Linked DNA regions of Homo sapiens: region 1 is linked to region 2. Evidence: promoter capture Hi-C in 16 types of primary human blood cells and fetal thymus (Javierre and others, 2016). All regions are on one chromosome and are shown on one strand. Each heading gives the region's core, a stretch centred on a gene start or on the middle of the fragment in contact. The rest is flanking DNA. Distances are from core to core; before and after follow the strand shown. Region 1 holds the start of MCM7 (minichromosome maintenance complex component 7). Region 2 overlaps TRIM4 (tripartite motif containing 4).

What was found. The method cuts DNA at HindIII sites, captures the fragments that hold promoters and counts their contacts. A CHiCAGO score of 5 or more calls a contact.
Region 1: a contact is called between the fragment with the promoter of MCM7 here and a fragment that was not itself captured in region 2, in 7 of 17 cell types (naive CD8 T cells, naive CD4 T cells, total CD4 T cells and 4 more). The highest score is 9.8, in naive CD8 T cells.

The regions. Positions count from the first base shown.
Region 1 is chr7:100,099,848-100,104,065 of GRCh38, forward strand. It overlaps MCM7 (minichromosome maintenance complex component 7), which reads right to left and starts at 1,550. Exons shown (of 15, transcript NM_005916.5): 1 at 1,417-1,550; 2 at 167-246. The coding sequence starts at 1,447. AP4M1 (adaptor related protein complex 4 subunit mu 1) reads left to right here and starts at 1,796. Exons shown (of 15, transcript NM_004722.4): 1 at 1,796-1,925; 2 at 2,033-2,121; 3 at 2,828-2,934; 4 at 3,017-3,113; 5 at 3,562-3,672; 6 at 3,765-3,845. The coding sequence starts at 1,868. RefSeq lists enhancers at 745-904, 1,250-1,802, 1,825-1,874 and a silencer at 1,015-1,114. The HindIII fragment of the contact is 6,263 bases long and covers 1-4,218 here.
Region 2 is chr7:99,913,808-99,918,336 of GRCh38, forward strand. The region is part of intron 1 of TRIM4 (tripartite motif containing 4); the gene reads right to left. Among named protein-coding and RNA genes, the nearest start is that of TRIM4, 3.5 kb to the right of the region's middle. The HindIII fragment of the contact is 1,169 bases long and covers 2,471-3,639 here.

The DNA of each region.
Region 1 (4,218 bases), core at 300-2,799, 180 kb after region 2:
GGCTCTGGGCATCCACAGGGGAGAACGCAGCGCCACACAGAGCGATACTCGCTTTTCAGCCCTCAAACCCTCTAATTGTTATGTCTTTAATAAAACAAGCCAAGCTGCTGCTTATGGCTCCTTAAGCACCCCGCTCCCCATTCCCTTTACCCAATCTTAGACTTACCAACTGGTTCCCATACTTGAACTGCTTCTTCCCGAGTTCATCATCCTGGTAGAACTCTTGTAAGAACTTCTTAACCTTTTCTGTAACATGAAATGTAAAACCGTAAGACACAAACTTTAAGACAAATCTTAGATACCCATTTTCGCTTAAAACACGACCTATGAACTAATTAATAATATGAGCATTTAAATAAACCTACCGAAGTCTCCCCAAAGTGGGCATAACTCTTTTTCACAAGTCTGTTTCTAACCAGCGAAGAATAAAGAGCCCGTGGCAGTGCACAGGGCCATCCAACATCTCCCCAGGGGAATTCCGGTCCCTACTTTAGTTTAAAATTCTAGCGCCCTTCCCCGTTGGCCCCTCACACTCCGGTCTCAAGGTTCTCAGCTTTCTTTCCACCCCTATGATCCCCCGCCTTCTTTGGGTCCCCTTAGCCCCTGATTTCACCGGGACCTCCGCCACCGCACCCCGCCACCGCACCCCACCCCCGCTCCCGCCATCGCTTCCGCTCTTAGTAAACAAAGAAGCACATGGGCCCGGATTCCAGCCGCTTCACAGCTCGGGATTCCTCCGCCCAGGGCGGGAGCCAGTCCAGCCATTGGCCATCACACCCAGAGACACCGCGATCCCAGCCCACTGCCGCCTTTCCCGGGCCCGAGCGAAGCTCCGGATCCCAGGCACGCCCCCCCGGGCCGCAGCTCTCTCCGCGGCCGCCGCGCGGAAGGACACTGTTTACACGACACTCCCTCCAGCCTCCTCGCGCCACTTCCGCCCGGCTCCACTTCCGCTCGGAGGGCGGCCTCAAACGGCCAATCCCGGCGCGCAGCGGCCCCGGCCTGCCCGCCCCCGGGGCCTACGCGCGCCTGGGGAGGGCGCGGGAACCTGGGAATGCCCAAAAGCGCGAAGGAAAGCGGGCACGGGAGCCCAGAGCCCTTAAGACTCTCCTGAGGTCCTGGGCGCGACTTTTCCCTGTGCAGCCCCCAGCCGGGTTAGCGCGCCCCCAAGCCCCCAACCCCACGACCCTAACACCTTTACCAGGTGGGATTACTAGCTTTTCTTCAACATCGATGGCCCCCCGCACGCTTCCCAGGCCCCGTGGGCCTTAGCCAGGCCGCAGCTCGACCCTGCCTCTGGCCTCGCGCACCCCAGAACCCGCCGACCCCGGTCCCCCAAGACCCCAGCTCACACCAACAGGTGTTCCCCGGGAGGCTCCCCGCGCAGGACGCCCTCCCGGGCTCGTAGACCCGTACCCTTCTCTAGCGCGTAGTCCTTCAGTGCCATCGCTGCCGAGGGCCGTGCGGCCGCGCTTGGCGGGCTCAGAGGTCTTGCTCCTGGGGAAGCTGAGAATCTCCGCGCGGTGGACTGTGGCCGGCCAACCGAAATTGGCGCGAAACGTCGCCCCCCACGTGACCGGCGCCACTGCGTGCGGGCCAATCGGACAAGGCGGCCTTCTTCACCTCCCGCTAGCCGCAAGCCAATCACCGTGCGGGCCTAGAATGAGTGACGGGGAGGCGGTGCGGGCGTCGGAAGGGAATCTCCGGGCGGGGTAGTGCAGGCGCCGGGTTTCCCGCGGTCCGAGCTGGCGCGGGCGGAGGAGAATCGCTCTTAAAGGGCCAGCGCACACGCGTTCTTTTGTTCCGGGGCCGCAGGGCGGGGCAGGCCCGACTTTCGCCGTCTTCTTGTCTACTCTCCAGAACGGCCATGATTTCCCAATTCTTCATTCTGTCCTCCAAGGGGGACCCGCTCATCTACAAAGACTGTATCCTAGACCCTTGGGGCTGGGAAGGGGCGGAGGGGCCGGGCGGGAGGGGCGCCCAGGGCCAGCCTGTGTCGCAGGATCCTTCACTGAGTCCTTCCACCCGCCAGTCCGCGGGGACAGTGGCGGCCGGGATGTGGCCGAGCTCTTCTACCGGAAGCTGACGGGACTGCCAGGAGACGAGTCCCCGGTTGTCATGGTAACCAGTGGCGGGAGGCGGGTGAGGAGCGGGGTCCCGTCGGGCCGGGTGGGCGCCAGCTCCCTCCCAGGACTGGTTCATTGGTAGATTCCACTTGGGGGGTGCATTCCGCCAAATAAAGCTAACGTGAGGCCCGGCGCGGTGGCTCACGCCTGTAATCCCAGCACTTTGGGAGACCGAGGCGGGCGGATCACCTGAGGTCAGGAGTTCGAAATCAGCCTGGCCAACATGGTGAAACTCCGCCTCTACTAAAAATACAAAAAAAAAAAAAACATAGCTGGGCGTGGTGGCGGGCGCCTGTAATCCCATCTACTCGGGAAGCTGAGGCTTGAGAATCGCTTGAATCCAAGAGGCAGAGGTTGCAGTGAGCCGAGATCCGGACACCGCACTCCAGCCTGGGAGACAGAGCGAGACTCCCTCTCGGGGTAGGTGGGGGTGGGGAAAAAAAAAAAAAGAGTCAATGGGCGCCAGCAACACACCAGGCCCAGCTCCCTGCGTGACTCCATCCTCAGCAACTCGGGGTAGTTAGTGTAATTAACCCCCTTTCCACATTGGGAAGCTGGGCCCAGGCATATGTCATGTATCTCCCAAAGGCACTGCTGTTGTGACTAGTAAGAGGCATCGGGATCCGAGCTCAGGTCTCCTGGGTTCTGATCACTCCACCTCCCTTTTTTTAACGCCTCTCTTCTCCCTGCCTGTGTCTCAGCATCACCATGGCCGTCATTTCATTCACATCAGACACAGCGGCCTCTATTTGGTGGTCACAACTTCAGAAAACGTTTCTCCCTTCAGCCTCCTAGAACTGCTCTCCAGGTGAGGAGGGTTGGGCTGGGCACCTGGTAGCTAGGAGGGGTCTGAGAGGAGGAGAAAATACACGCTCCAAGTGTTTCCTCAGGTTGGCCACCCTTCTGGGCGATTACTGTGGCTCCCTGGGCGAGGGGACCATCTCCCGCAATGTGGCTCTGGTATACGAACTCCTGGATGAAGTGCTGGTGAGAATCAACAATCCCCTTCTGTGGCCCCTACCCAATTCCCCTGAAGATACATCTGCTCTTCTACTGTGGGATGCCGTGGTTAGGAGGCCAAGTCTACCTTTTTTTTTTTTTTTTTTTTTGCTTTTAGAGACAGGGTCTTGCTCTGTTGCCCAGGCTGGACTGCAGTGGTGCAGTTATAGCTCACTGCAGCCTGGAACTCCTGGGCTCAAGCCGTCCTCCTGCCCCAGCCTCCCCTGTGCCTAGCTAATTGTTTATTTTTTGTAGAGACTAGAGTCTCACTGTGTTGCCCAGGCTGGTCTTGAACTCATGGCCTCAAGCCATTCTCCTACGTCTCGGCCTTCCAAAGCGCTGAGAGTACAGGAGTGAGTCACCATGCCTGGCCCCACTCCCCCTCTTTACCCCTTCCCTCCACTGATCACTCAGACTGTCCTTCCTTTACCACTAGGACTATGGCTATGTACAGACCACATCCACGGAGATGCTGAGGAATTTCATCCAGACGGAAGCTGTGGTCAGCAAGCCCTTCAGCCTCTTTGACCTCAGCAGCGTTGGCTTGGTCAGTAGAGGGAAAGAGGAGGGTGAGGAAAGAGAAGAGGGGTTGGCTGGGGTTGTCAGACCTGATGATTGATTGCTTTGGATGCTTTACAGTTTGGGGCTGAGACACAACAGAGCAAAGTGGCCCCCAGCAGTGCAGCCAGCCGCCCCGTCCTGTCCAGTCGCTCTGACCAGGTGAGGGAAGGATCCATGGGGTCAGACGCTCTGGTTTTGCTCTGGGATCCGGGAGTCCAAGATCTTAGGTCGGGCACAGCGGCTCACGCCTGTAGTCCCAGCACTTTGGGAGGCCGAGGTGGGCAGATCACCTGATGCCAGGAGTTTCAGAGCAGCCTGGCCAACATGGTGAAAACCTGTCTCTACTAAAAATGCAAAAAAAAAAAAAAAAAAAGAAAAAGATCTTGGCACATCTCCCACCCCCCCAGATGTGGGTGGAGGTGGGAGATGATCCCTTCCATCACCCATGTCCTCACCCTAGAGCTGTAGCTTTGACTGTCCTGTTCTTTCTCCCTGTCTGTCCATTTCAGAACATAGGCTATTCTGCTTCCAA
Region 2 (4,529 bases), core at 1,805-4,304:
TACTGACTTGTGATCATGTAGCTCAAACAACATTAAACTTCCAAAGATCTTAGTTTCACTCTAGACCTTCAAACCAGCTGTGCATCTGTGAGCAAGTCAGCCTTGCTTATTTCCTGGATCAAGGCTTCCTTAACTATAAAATGAAGACAACTGGACCAAATGTCTCTTAAATACCATCCCAGCTCTTGAGTTCTATGAATTTCAGTCACTGTAACTTCTGCAATTGATCCAAGCTGGTAGGTGTACTTTGGAAATATACCTCAAATCTACCTACATGCCAAACCCCACTGCCACCGCTAGTTGAAGCCACCATCATCTTTTGTCTGACAACTACAATAACCTCCCGACTGCCCTCCCTACTTACAGTCATGTCCTTCTCTCATACAATATCCACAACGCAGCCACAGTGGCACGATCATAGCTCACTGCAGCCTCGAACTCCTGAGTGCAAGTGATCCTCTAGTCTCGGCCTCCCGAATAGCTGGGACTACAGATGTGCATCACTACATCCAGCTAATTTTTGTATTTTTTGTAGAGATGGGATCTCACAGTTGCCTAGGCTGGTCTTGAACTCCCGGACTCAAGCAATCCTCCTGCCTCAGCCTCCCAAAGTGCCAGGATTATAGGCATAAGCCACCACACCTGGCCTTGGAATAACTTTTCTAAAAACTAATCAGATATTGTCACTCTCCTGCTCAAGATTCTTCACTGGCTTTCCTCTTCACCAAGAAAATCTGAACACTTCATTGTGGCCCAACATAAGCTGACCGCTGCCTACATCTCGTTTCACATCGCATGCCACCTTTCCCCTTGCTCTTGGTCCTCCAGGTGCAGAGACCTTCTTCCTACCCCATAAACATATCCAGCTCTCCCCCGCCTCAGGGCCTCTTCCCACAGTTCCTCAGATGGCAGACTCTGCATCCAGCAAGTTTCAGCTGCAATGTCACCTCCTAAGAGAAGACTGCTCCCTTCTCTGGCATAGCACTTTTTCTTTTTTTCTTTTTTTCTTTTTTTTTTCTTGAGACGGAGTCTTGCTCTGTCACCCAGGCTGAAGTGCAGTGACATGATCTCGGCTCACTGCAACCTCCGCCTCCCGGATTCAAGCAATTCTCCTGCCTCAGCCTCCCAACTAGCTGGGATTACAGGTGCCCACCGCCGCACCTAGCTGATTTTTGTATTTTTAGTAAAGACAGGGTTTCACCATGTTGGCCAGGCTGGTCTCAAACTCCTGACCTCAAGGGATCCTCGCGTCTCAGCCTCCCAAAGTGCTGGGATTACAGGCGTGAGCCACTGCGCCTGGCCTAGGATAGCACTTTCTTTTTCTTTCCCAGCATGCCATCACCATCTGTGATTATTTCATTTATTTGTCTGTCTGCTATCTACCTCCCACCCTCAGCCCAACTGGACTGTGAGCTCCATGGAAAGCCTTTACCTGTCTTGTTCACCACTGGATTCCCAGTGCTGCATCTGGTGCCGTGCCACAGCATCTGACACAAAGCCAGTGCTCAATAAACATCTTAAATTAATTAACAGAATGGAGGGATTAGCTCCTAGAGTCAGGCATGAAGGAAAAAAGAGCTGCACTTGGAGGCCTTTTCCATGCAAACAATTTGCATCCGGAGATTTATGAAGCTATTTCTCTTTCTCTTTTCTCTTTTTCTCCCCTCACCATAACGGGTATAGGATGGGGATATTTTCCATGGATTTAGGGAACTTCCAGCTATCCAACTTTTAAAACACAGTCCATCCATCTGAGTATATGCTGAGAATGGGATGCTTGGAAATAAAGCAGCTTCACCCAGGGGCAGTTTATGTTTTTCTAACTAACTTGGGGTGGGGATGGAATGAAAGGTGGTTGAATAGGGCAGTGACTAAGCAGAGGAGGATGGAGAGATGGGCGGATATCAGGGAATTCCGCCCAGTGACCTGGCTCCTGAACACCTACGAAGTCAACCTTGTGACATTCAGCCCATCCCAGTGTAACCCTTACCCATCCACTCCTGTCCTGTTGGGCCATTGTGTTTAATCCTGAAATCCCACCTCTTCTAAGAAGTCTTCTCAGATTAGTTGTGGCAGAGTGAAAAGTGTAAAGGATTAGGGGTTAGAAGACCTCAGTTCAAGCATAGCCACTTCCTAGTTCTGTGACCTCGGGGGCATGTAACCTCACATCTCTGTGGCACAGTTGCCTCATCTTCAAAAAGGGAATAACAGAATCCACCTAATAGGATGTCTATGAAGATTAAAGAATTACAGTATGAAAAATGCTTAGAACTGTGGGTGGTACGTAAGAAGTAATGAACAACTGATAGCTATTACTGCTGAAGATGGAAGATTTAAGGGCTATGTTCCCCTTTCATACCCATCCACTTATATTTCCCTCGGCCCCCACCCACAAGTGTATTTTCCCTTCCATTTATCTGATGGGTCCTCTCCATGTCTTTTGCTGGCTACCAACCATTGGTGTTTCCCAAGCTTCTCTTTGTGCCTTTTTTTACTCTCTATGTGGTCCTCCTAGGAGAATCTCATCTTCTTACTTCTTCCATGACTTCAAGAACAGGCTGAGGATTCTAAAATATTATCTCTAGCCTCCAAGGCACCCCACCTCCTGTCCCTCTTCCTTGGACTTCCTGTCACAATTACTTCACACTCAGTACATTCCACAAGCATGGGATCTTCTGTCCTAAGACTACGCTTCCTCCTGTGTACCTTACCTCAGTTAACCTGACAGTCATCTACCTGCCATCTGAAGCAGAAATCTGAACTACCATCCAAGACTCCTCTCTCTCTCACCCACCAAGTCTAATTGATCACCAAGTCATTCAACTCCAGCTCATTATCACTCCATCCCTCCCTCTCCATCATCCCTGCCCTGAACTAATTCAGGTCTTTATTACCTCCTGCTTAAAATGGTACAAGAGCAGCCTAATTAGTCTTCTCTTCCATTCATCCACGTGGATGTCAAAGTTACCTGTCTAAAACAAAAAAAACGATCATATCATTCCCTGCCTTAAAACCCTTTTATAACTCCCCACTGCCTGAAAGAGAAAGTTCAATCTTTTTACTATGGCAAACAAGATCCTTCATGATAAGGCCCTGCCTTTTTCTTCAAGCTCATGGCCCACCATCCTCCTTCCCATGCTCCATGCTCCAGAAGTACTGAGCAACCTCCAGTCCTCTCACACACCACATGCTATCCCACTCCACCACATTTGGAATATGCTGTTCCTTTGGCCTGAAATACCTTCTTTCCTACCTCTACTCACCCTTGAAGAGCTAACACATTTAACTCCTCAACGGAGCCTTTCCTCACTCCTCAGTGATCACTCCGACCTCAGACCTTCTGTACACTTGGTAAATACTTCAGCTACTCTCACACACACTGAAATTAATGTTGTACACGCTTAAGTTCCTTACAAGACAAAGCCCATGTCTTTCTCATCCACTTATGTCCAGATTCTAAAACAATGTTTGGCAAATAGTAAGCATCAATAAACGTTACTGAGTGAAGGAATGAACATACACTTTCTAGTCCAGCTTTGTGTCTGTTTCCTGTTCATAGTCAGCTGGTACAACTGTACAGTATTTTACAGTTTCCAAACATTTTCACTGTGTCATTAAATTCATGTGTTTGGCCAGGAAAGCTTGCTCACGCCTGTAATCCCAGCACTTTGGGAGGCCAAGGTGGGTGGATCACCTGAGGTCAGGAGTTCGAGACCAGCCTGACCAACATAGTGAAACCCTGTCTTCACTAAAAATACAAAATTAGCTGGGCATGCTGGCAGGTGCCTGTAATCCCAGCTACTCGGTAAGCTGAGGCAGGAGAATCACTTGAACCCGGGAGGTGGAGGTTGCAGTGAGTTGAGATCTCACCACTGCATTCCAGCCTGGGCAACAAGAGCGAAACTCCATCTCAAAAACAATAATAATAAAATAAATAAATAAATTCATGTGTTCATGTACTTACTGCATATCAATTCTGCTGGAGACCACTGGAGTTACACCATCAGTAATGGGAGGGGGTGGGGCTACTCTGGAAAGGATGATCAGGGAAGGTCTTCAAGCTAAAAGCTAAAAGGATCTAAAGGATAGATGTGGGTAGAGAAAGAGAACAGACTTGAAACAAAAGCAAGAAAGCCAGTATGGCTGAAGCAGAGTAAGGTAAAGTGATTTATTCAACCGGAGCTTCTTAACCCATGAGATAGGACAGATAATCCCCAAATTCAAATGTTACAGGATTTTCCCAACTGATGAAGGAAGCTAGTAACAAAACCCAGCCTCATCATTACAAGCTAGGCTTTTCCCAAATCATCAGCTGTCTATGACATTTACAGATACAGACAGGCACTGTCCAATACAGTATCCATTTAGCCATACAAGCACCTGAAACGTGGATATTCCAAACTGCTATGTGTTGTAAATGTAAAATACACACCAATTTCAGACCTATTATGAAAAAGGAGTATAAAATATCTCATTGAGGCCGGGCGTGGTGACTCACACCTTAATCCCAGCACTATGGGAGGCCAAGC